2 separate regions of the Homo sapiens genome follow, and region 2 is linked to region 1. Evidence: promoter capture Hi-C in human tissues and cell types (Jung and others, 2019). All regions are on one chromosome and are shown on one strand. Each heading gives the region's core, a stretch centred on a gene start or on the middle of the fragment in contact. The rest is flanking DNA. Distances are from core to core; before and after follow the strand shown.

Evidence for each region. The method cuts DNA at HindIII sites, captures the fragments that hold promoters and counts their contacts. A contact is called where the count stands out against the background at its distance.
Region 2: a fragment that was not itself captured here is called in contact with the fragment with the promoter of SLC5A12 in region 1 in 2 of the 25 tissues and cell types used here (H1 embryonic stem cells and mesenchymal stem cells).

Annotation. Positions count from the first base shown.
Region 1 is chr11:26,719,301-26,724,807 of GRCh38, forward strand. SLC5A12 (solute carrier family 5 member 12) reads right to left here and starts at 2,760. Exons shown (of 15, transcript NM_178498.4): 1 at 2,076-2,760. The coding sequence starts at 2,414. The HindIII fragment of the contact is 6,083 bases long and covers 2,744-5,507 here.
Region 2 is chr11:27,149,525-27,155,031 of GRCh38, forward strand. BBOX1-AS1 (BBOX1 antisense RNA 1) reads right to left here. Exons shown (of 4, transcript NR_125768.1): 3 at 1,526-1,628. Among named protein-coding and RNA genes, the nearest start is that of BBOX1-AS1, 66 kb to the right of the region's middle. The HindIII fragment of the contact is 4,760 bases long and covers 539-5,298 here.

The DNA of each region.
Region 1 (5,507 bases), core at 1,510-4,009:
GCATTACGGCATTAAAATATCATGCAGTGCAGAGTGAAATTACTCATTGTATATGTGCCTTTACACACTGAAAGACATCTGATGTCTCTGCCCTCAACTCCCTAAACATCAGTAGTGACTCCTAATCATTGTGACAACCAAATATCCTACAAATATCCCAAGTGCTCCCTCTGTGTGGCACTAGCTCCACTGAGACCCCTGCTGTATATAACTGGGCACTCCCATCTCTTTGATCTTATCTTTTACCATTGTCCCCTTTGCTCTCTCCTCTCCAAGCACACTGATTTCTTTGCTGTCCTTCAACATGCCAGTCACACTCCTTTTCTAGGGCCTTTGCATCTGTGACTACTTCAGCCTGAGATGCACTTCCCTTGTCTGGTGCAATTATTTGCTTTCTTCCAGTCTCCATTTAGACGTCTTATTTTACTTGAAGTTTCATATGATCACCCTCTATGAATATGGACATTCTCTACTCATACCAGCATTCCTCCTCTCTATCTCATCCTATTTACTTTACTTTTTCTCCATTTGTTTTTGTAGGACAGGACAGCATAGTTATTTAGCATATGATATCTAAAGTTAGACTGCCTGGTTTGAAAAACTGTTACTTGCTAGCTTTATGTCACTTAGCAAGTTACTTAATTCTATATGCCTCAGTTTTCTAGTCTGTTAAAAGGAGGTGACAGTACCTGTCTAAAAAAGATTGTTTTAAGGCCAAAAGACTTAACACACATAAGGAACTTAGAGAAGTACTTAGCACATAGTTAAATACCATATATATTTGTATTATGATTTTCTTACACAGTATATGTTTATTGACTGCCCTTCTCTGCTATGAAGTAAGCTCCATGACAGCAGGAACTTGGTGCAATGCTTTATGCCTAGGGCTACGAGAATGCCTAGAACAAGCTGGGTGTGGTGGCAAACTTCTGTAGTCCCAGCTACTTGGGAGGTTGATTCAGGAGAATCACTTGAGCCCAGGAGTTTGAGAACGGCCTGGGAAACATAGCAAAAGCCCCATCTCATAAATAAATAAATAAATAAATAAATAAGTAAATAAATACATGGAAAAAAAGAAGAGTGCCTTTTTAAGTATCTTAAGAGTAGATGCTTAATGAGTATTTACTGAGTGAATAGTCATAAAAATTACATTACATAAAACTATGGAATCAATAACACTTTTTAAGACTTCCTAAAAAGTGTTCATTTGCCTGAGTGACTTTTGAAGGCTAGAATAATGTTTTATACTCATATAGCTTACATATTTAAAAAAAAATAGGTCTCTTTTCAGTCTCCTGCAGTGACTTTAGGAATGATATTGGATAATGAAAATAAATACCTTATTAATAGAAACTTATGTTTGATCACATTTCTATATAGAGCATGCAAATTCAATTTTGAACATGATGTCTTCATTGAGAATCATTGTAAAGCCAAAACACCACTGCCTCATTTCCCTCACATTAAATAATTCCCATATTTGTATTATTTAGCAATTCCTTTCGTTAAAATGTTTTGTACTTTTCAAAAATGTTTCCATTTCCTCATTAAAAATTAGTCTTATTATAATTTGTATTAAAATGCCCTCTACTCTCTGACGGAAAGGCCACTAAGTAGAGATACAGAAAAAATTAGGTTCTCAGGTCACTTTACTATTCAAAAATCTTAACTAAGTCATTTATCTGTATCTCAGTTTTCTTAGCTGGAAAATTGCCGTACTCATGAGAAATGTTCTGTTTGCTTTTCAGAATGATGACGTTCACAATAATAAAAAATAACATCAGCCCTCTTTATTGCAAACCTCCTACAAATGAGGCCATACATTAAGTGCTCACATAGAGGTTCTCATTTGATCATTAAAATAGCCCTGTGGGATTGTCATCATTATTTTCCTTCTACAGATGGGAAAATAGATATGTCTGTCTCCAAAGCTTAGGCTTTTTACAAAAACATTTTAATGTCTTTCTCATAATGTGTAATTATCCTGAAAATCAGTGAGTGTTCTTCAACTACCAGGTGCTATCATCAAGAGGATGAGAAAAAAAAATTAGAGAAGAATGGAGAAATCATCTTACCTCATAAGTGCTGGTGATACCAGATCTGTAGAACACAGGGAGAAAGAGCTCTGATGTTAAGAGGATGACAAATAGGTAAGCAATGAAGAAGACTAGGAAGGATGCCCCAAAGCGGTAGACTTCAGAAGGGGTCCCCAGGACCGTGACAGCTGACATGAAGCTGGCTGTCAGAGACAAGCCGACAGGGCCAAAGCTCATTTGCCTTCCCCCAACCAGGAACTCTCGGGAAGTTGCCTTTTTTCTCTCCTTAATGGCAAAGAACACCCCAATTCCAGAGGAAATGAAAAAGAGGGCTGCAAATACAACATAATCCCAAACTGCAAAGTTCTTCACCTCCATATTGGAAAGTATGACACCAGAGAGTTTCTTTCAACGAGGTCTCAGGAAGAAGATGTTTCCAAAAGCAAAGTTCAGTACAGTGGATGCTTTGCTGAGAGGAGAGACTGTGATTCCCTGAAGAAAATGATTACCAGAGGCACTCGTGTGAATCTTCAGACACCAACGTGTACTTAGTGAAGATCTCAAAAGTTGACTTCAAAGAAGAATCTGGTGGTGGTATTGGCACCAAGAGATGAGAATTTGAAATCTGACCCTAGCTAAGAGCTGTCTGCTCCTCTCCTAAAGCATATGCCACAGAGAAGGAATTCAGATGTGTTCTGAAATTAATAACCACTGGGGGTGGAATGGACTGGCCAGATAACATGCTGTTTTATCTCTTAGATTTTTTTTAACTTAAGGTTAAACATTTCTGGGAAACATAGAATTGATAACAATTTACCACCTCAGCATTTTTAATTCGTGAGATGGAATCTGTAAAATGCAAACACAATCCTCAGCAGTGTCTTCCTCTTGAAGAAGGGAGAGTGAAGGCTGTGTGCCTGCAATTGTCTGAGGCAGTGGATGTGGAGAGAAAGAAGCAAAGGACTAGGAATTCAGAGACCTTTGCTCGAGTCCTGGCTCAACCACGAGAAAGCCATGAAACATTTCATAAATCATTTAACATTTCTGAACTTCACCTGGAACACAGGGATAATAAGACCTTACAAGGTCTTTAAAGACTTAAGTCTTAAACTTCCTGACTCTCTTTGTCTTGATCTGTAAAATGAAAGGTAATAATATGTACCCCATTGGCTATTATCTGTGCTTACAGCAGAGCACTCTGGAACATCATAGCTTTTCTTTCTTTATTCTAGGACCTAGAAAAATCAATTTGCCATTAATTAATAAATTATTTATAGCCTTCAACTTTATCTTGTCTTTCTCTTATTTTCACCAGGTTACTATCACTGTACCCACAGGCTAAGTTAGAATTAGGACCAGGACAAATTAGAGAAGGAAGGTAACAATCCAGTTATAAATTCCTGTTTCTGCTCTCTTTAGACTCTGTCAATTGTTCCAAAGTACCTCTAGTGCAATTTCTAATTTTGTTCATGCTTCTCCTCCTTCTTCAGTGGCCTTCTCCATCCCCACCTCTACAAAGCTTGTGTATTCTACAAGATCTAGTATGAGTTTTCTCTACTCTGTGAAGCTTTTCTGCCTCTCCACGTCAACTCCTGTAGAACGTAGCCTCCCTAGTACTCATTTTGTACTCAGCCATCATCTTGCCTATTTTAGGGAATCTCTATGTAACCGGCTACAGGAGTCTGTCAGCTGTTCAAATGACATTTCCTTGAAGACAGAAGCAAAGCTCTAGTCCATATACCCAATACATTATAGCCATTGTAGAAAATAAAAAAAATAATTTTTAGAAAGGAGAAAACTAAAATTATCCATAATGCCCAAAGACAGAAACATTTCCAGCCAAACAATAAAACAAAAAACGCTCTAATTTTGCTTTTCACATCTGGATAACTGAATAAATCTTTGCTTCATGAATTTGAATTAGACCAAAGAAAGGTTTAATTAGATAGCTAAAGTATGCTTTTAGTTACCAATAAAAATATGAAGACTCTCCCAAGAGCTGTCTGTGTCCTCTGTTTAAATTCCTCCACTAGATTTGGAGATTTGATATGATAAATGTTACTGCAAATCTTGGTCTTTAATATATTTACCTTAACCTGGGCTTTTAATTATTTGTATCATGAAGTATTCCAATTATATATGAGGTTTTTGTTGTGATCTCAGCAGAAAATCAGAACTTTTTTAGCTTTCAGAAACTTGACTCCTTTATAGTTTAATATTTACACTACCTAATGGTTAATATTCAATCTATAAAACATGTAATCCCCTTGTATAAGTCAGGTTAAGAATGGTTCAAAACATTATCATCAATAACTTTCTAAAGGTACATACTAGAAACCTATAACAAAAGAGTTAATGAGTACTGATGGTTTTAATTAAACTTTGTGTAGTAACAGTATTATCTGCATGACTCCAATTAGTCTTGAATTTTGAAGTGGTAGGGAGCAGATTGGTTAATACCTGGGATATGAAGAAACCTTTATGCCTCTTAGGAAAGTATTCCTTGCTTTCAACATTTTGTTGATTATAAGGCACAGCATCAATTCAGTAATTTAATTTTCAGTTATTTTCTACATATTTACCCTTTTCTCCCTTTGGTAGCATTCGTTGTCCTCAAACGCTCTTCTTAATTCCATAAAGACTCACTCCATGCAAAGTTCATGCAGATTGTAAAGCACAGCAGCAATTCATAACTTTTCAGGTGAAAAAAAAAAAACCCCAGTACATTCAATGACCTCATTAATTAGAAGGCACATTTCTATATCAGAAATGTTAATATAGCGAGAAGGAGGGAAAATATGCTTCTTCGACCTGAAGAAATCCCTGTAGCGCCTCTACCCTCTCTCATGTGCACAGAATACTGCCATTTGTATTTGACTCATTTAGTGTAAGGCTTGAGACCCTGTCAGAATATAAACACCATCACCTGTTACTCATACATGGCCTTAACAAGGTCCTGCTACTCAATTACTCACATGCTTAACAAGTTAAATTTGTAATTGCTAACATTAGTAGTCTCCGCAAGGTAAAATAGTTCAGCAATTTGCATGCAACAAGTTGTAATGGGAAAGAAAGAGTTTGATGATATCAAATGCTACCAAAAGAGAAAAAGGTAAAGAACTGGAAGAAATGGGGCATTAAAAACAAAACAAAACAAAACAAAACAAAACAAAACAAAACAAAAAACACCATTGTTGCAATGTTGCTAAGAGTGAACTCTGCACACCATGGTTATTTTGGCCTGGGATCAAAGAGAAGAAAATGCACATGAACAAGCCTTGGTCATTTGAGACTAGACTTTCACTAAATTGGTGTCTTCCTTCATCTGTTCTCAAAGCCAATGGGAGTAGGAGTGGTGTACAAGAATAAAATGGCTATTATTTTGCTCTATTTTTATTTTTTATTTCATTTTTTTTTATTTTTTTGAGACAGAGTCTCACTCTGTCGGCCAGGCTAGCGTGCAGTGGCTCG
Region 2 (5,507 bases), core at 1,669-4,168, 430 kb after region 1:
ATTGGGTAAATATTCTCATTCCAAAAGGGAGAGATCAGCCAAAAAATTAAAAAAAAAAAAAAAGAGGAGGGCTCCTGGCCCCATGTAGCCTGAAACCAAGCAGGGCAGTCATTAAATCTTAAAGCTCCAAAATAATTTCTTTTGACTCCACGTCTCATCCCGGGCACACTGTGGCAAGGGGTGGGCTTCCAAGGCCTTGGGCAGTCCTGCCCTGTGGCTTTGCAGGATTTAGCCCCTGCAGCAGCTCTCAAGGGCTAGTGTTGAGTGGCTATGGCTTTTTCAGACCGAGGGTACAAGCTGCTGGTGGCTCTACCATGCTTTATCATTCTGGGGGCTGGAGGACGATGACCCTCTTCTCACAGATCCACTAGGCAGTGCCTCAGTGGGGACTCTGCGTGCGGGCTTCAACCCCACACTTCCCCTCTGCACTACCCTAGTAGAGGTTCTCCATGAGGGTTCTACCTCTCATTCAGGCTTCTGCCTGTACATCCATGCATTTCCATACATTCTCTGAAATCTAGGTAGAGGCTCCCAAGTCTCAATTCTTGCATTCTGTGTGCCCACAGGCTTAACACCATGTGGAAACAGCCAAGGCTTATAGCTTGCACCCTCCAGAGCAGCAGCCCAAGGTTTACATGGGCCCCTTTTAGCCATGGCTGAAGCTAGAGCTTCTGGGACACAGGAAGCAGGGTTCTGAGGCTGTGCATTGCAGTAAGTCTTGGGTCTGGCCTACAAAACCATTCTTCCCTCAGAGGCCTCTGGGCGTGTGATGGGAGGGGCTGCGAAGAAGGTCTCTGAAATGCCTTCAAGACTTTTTCCCAGTTGTCTTGGCTATTAGCATTTGGCTCCTCTTTACTTATGCAAATTTCTGCAGCCTGTTTGAATTCCTCCCCTAAAAATGGGCTCTTCTTTTCTACCACATGGCCAGGCTGCAAATTTTTCAAACTTTTATGCTCTTCCTCCCTTTTAAATACAAGTTCCAGTTTCAGACCATATCTTTGCTTACACATATGAGGAAAGGTTGCTAGAAGCAGCCAACCCATATCTTAAACACCTTTGCTCCTTAAAAATTTCTTCCACCAGTTACCCTAAATCATCTCTCTCAAGTTCAAAGTTCCACTGATCCCTAGAGCAAGGGCACAATATAGCCAGGCTCTTTGCTAAAGTACAGCAAAAGTGAGCTTTACTCTAGTTCTCAGTAAGTTCCTCATTTCCATCTGAGATCTCCTCAGCCTAGATGGACTTCATTGTCCACATCACTATCAGCATTTTGGTCACAACCATTCAACAAGTCTCTAGGTAGTTCCACACTTTCCCTCATCTTCCTGTCTTCTTCTGAGCCCTCCAAACTGTTTCAGCTTCTGCCTATTACCGAGTTCCAAAGCTGCTTGCACATTTTCAGGTATCTTTATAGAAATGCCCCACTCCTTAGCACCAATTTTCTGTATTAGTCAATTGTTACACTGCTATAAAGAAATATCAGAGACTGGGTAATTTATAAAGAGAAGAGGTTTAGTTGGCTCACAGTTCTGCAGGCTGTACAGGAAGCATCTTCTCAGCTTCTGGGGAGGCCTCAGGAAACACACAATCATGGCAGAAGGCAAAGGGGGAGTGAGCACTTCACATGGCTGGAGCAGGAGGAAGAGAAAGAAAAAGGAGTTGTTACACACTTTTAAACAACCATATCTCACAAGAACTCACTCACTATTAAAACGACAGTACCAAGGAAGAAATCTGCCCCCATAATCAAATCACTTCCCACCAGGCCCCACCTCCAACATTGGGGATTACAATTGAACATGAGATTTGAGTGGGGACACATATCCAAACCATATCACTAAGCAATGAAAGGGAAGATTCCAGAGGTAAAGCAGAAGGTCCAATCCCCCAACCAAAGTTAATTTTACATCTTCCTAACATACTCGACACTTACTTCTTCATCCTGTCTCCTAAGAGTTCCACTATCCATCCCATTGCTGAAGTCAGTAACCTATGAGCAATCCACACTTCTTCCAGTTCCCCACTCTAGATATCCACTCACCAAATCCCTTTGGTTTCATATATACAATGGTACTAGATTCTGCGTACCCTACTCCATTCCCACAGTCATTTTCCAAGTAGAGATCCTACTATCTCTTCCCTAGACTAGTATAATACCCTCCTCCCTAGCCTCCCTCTAATCTTATGGGAATGCCTCCCATCCATTCTGCCCTTGACAGCCAGATCAACTTCCAAAATGCAAATCCTACTGATCCATAGCCAGTAAGTACCCATATTGCCACACAATTGTTTAAGTCTGTGTGGTTAAAATACATACCACCTGCTAAATATTAAATGTTATCCTGGGAGTTGATCTTGCCACTCTCTTCCTTAAAACCACTCTCTTATTTAAAATGTGTTGCCTTCAGGATATAATTCAATGCAAAGCAGGAGAGATAATTTCCTAAAATACCATTTTTGTTTGTTATCTCCTTTACCATCTAATGCTGCTTCCAAACTGGTAACCAAGACTTGCAGTTCTTTGCCCTAGAGATTCTGATGGGAGAAAATTAGAAACTGGGGTCTTTTATAAATGTCTACATCTTTTGAAGAGTAGACAGTACTTAGATTACATTAGATCACCTGGAAGATGAGGAGACAGAACTGATGAGGTCATAGGAAACAATTGTAGGGCATTGGGGGTGAAATAGAAAAATGTATGCACAGTAGGAATCTAAACGCTACACCTCGAACAGTGCAGTAGAAAGGTAGAGAAGCCTCAGAATAAAAGGCGGAATGGTCCACCCAGAGAATCTAGATCCTAGACACTAGAGTTCCCACTTCAACAAAGAGTCTCATAGGTGACTACAAAGCCACAAACCTGCAGGAACCAAAAGGATATGAAGGCTGGAACAATGGGCTCTCCATGACAACCACTGTGGTCAGATGATTGATGCGCTAAAGGGTCTCTCTAAATGTGTGAACTTAGGAGCATGGGAAGCTCCAAGAATAATGAAAGTGTTGTCTGTCTCATGAGCTCCTAAGGCATCCTATCGTGGATCTTATTATGCTCAATGTAGCTACCATTTTTTGTTGCCATTTTTGGCTACCATTGTCAGCCCAGGTGATAGTAAACTTTTTCTGTAAAGGGCCAGACAGTAAATATTTAACCCCAAATTGTGACCAATACAGTCTGGCACAGCCACTCAACTCTACCATTATACGACAAAACAGCCAAAGACAATATGTAAATGAATGGGCACATCAGAGTTCCAATAAAACTTTATTTGCAAAAACAAGCAGTGGGGCAGATTTGGCCCAAGGGCCGTAATTAGCCAACTTCTAGTCCAATGTATTAAATTATAAGCTCACTGAGGTCAGAGATCATATCTTTTACTAAACCAGCAAAAATTTACTGAGAATTTACCATCAAAATCCGTGAAAAGCAGCCATCAGGACTTAGTAGTGATTAAGACAAAATATGTTCTCTAATGTAGCTTAGATTCTACTACAAAAGGGGAGATAGCACATAAATAAAATTAATATCTGAAAGCAACCAATCTTATTCACCAATGAGTCTCTACTGTCCTGCACAATATTCACTACCCACCAAGTACTGAGTATAAATTTGCTCAATGAATTTGCTCATGTCTAGTACTGTAACATTTTTGGCCAACCCTCAGCTCTTTCCTGCCTAAGCAGTTAGGGGCTTAAGCTGCTGAAACTTCCAAGAGGAAGTGGAGTTACAAGCTAGTCCTAAAGCAGCTGGCTCAATCACTCATTATTTTTAATGAAACCACAAGCCAGTGCCTGCCTCCAGCTCCTACCAGGAGCTGAAGAACTTCTTCAGTGTGGGCTCTCCTACAAGGACAAATCTGCTGAAGTAACAGGGAATGAACAGCTCTTGTGGTAAGCTGAGTAATGTCCCTCAAGGATATCCACATCCTTATCCCCTGAATCTGTGAATGTGTTGTCTTACATGGCCGAAAGGACTTTGCAGCTACAATAAAGTTAAGGATTTTCACATGGGGACAGTATCCCGTATAATCCAAACAGGCCCAATATAATCACAAAGGTCCTTATTAGAGTGATACAGGAGAGTCAAAGAGAAGCAAAGGTAAGAGGGGATGGGGTCAGGGGGGAGATTTGAAGATGCTGTATGGCTGGACTTGAAGGTGGAGAAGGAAGTCATGAGCCAAGGAATGTAAGTGGTCTCTAGAAGCTAAAAAAGGCAAGAAATATATTCTCCCCTAGAATCTCCAGAAGGAATGCACCCGGCTGATATCTTGATTTTAGCCCTTGTAAGACGCATTTCAGATATTTGACCTCCAGAACTACAGGATAATAAATCTGCGATAAGTGGTTACTGCAGCTAATAGAAAACTAACACAGTCCCTTGCCCCAAAACTGTCACAATTGAAGAGGCCTGCAAGCCTTTTGAGTCTTACGGTAGATGCCTTGACCTACCTGCACAAGCTTTGTGTTTGCAGCTCTCTTCCCAGAGGCAGCCTTGCAGAGATCCCCAGGCACCACCTGGGAGGCTGAGTGAAGCTGGGGCAGCCAGGATTGTTGCCCACTCTGTTCCTTTTTCCCCCTTCATGGGCCTTCTCCAGCTGCCCCATCAAATCCAGGCAAGGCTCTACAAGACTACCCTCCCCCACTTTCCACCTATGCCTCAACCTTAATTCACCCCAGGCCAGCAGAGCTGCATGTGTCTTTGTGAGAAATCACTGTTCTCAGGTACTTCTCCGTTGAGCAACTGGATATACCCAGACAGCCTAGGGAGTAAGTTCCCAGGGAGGTAAATGCCCACCTAGGACACATCAAACACACCTGTGTCAATTCCAAACTTTGAGTACAAAAAAAAAAAAAAAGGATTACTCAAGAAGGTGCTGATAAAACTTTAAATGTGTAGGTCTCCCAATCAGCATGTGCTGCCAAGAACACTTTCCTGTGGCTCCACCTCTCTCTACTCCCATCACTGAAATTGCACCTTTTTCATCAATGTAGGCCTTATTTCACAGATCTATAGGAAGAAGATTGGACTAGATAATTATTCTAAGGAATCATCTACTGCACCATGACCTGTGACCTAAATAGGCCTAAAAAACAGTTTTTCTTAATGGGTTTAAGCTGCTTTCCATTTTTTACCTCAGAGCACTGAGGGTCCTCTGCCCTAGAGTTCTTTCCATAGAGTTCTGCAAGGCCTGGTTTAGCCAGTTAGGCCAAAATTGTTTTCATGTGATGGGCTAAAACATAGAATTCCTAATATTGCTCAGTACACATTCTCTTTAACTGATTTGATTTTTATAAACCTAAACCTGTACCCACTTTTGTATCATTTTAGCTAGATTTATTCTTTGACTCTTTTATTCTTTTTGTGTTAACTTTTCTACTGTATTTTTTTTTTTTTTTTTTTTTTTTTTAGACACGGTCTTGCTCTGGCACTCAGGCTGGAGTGCAGTGGCATGAATTCTCAACCTCCTGGGATCAAGTGATCCTCCCACCTCAGCCTTCCAAGTAGCTGG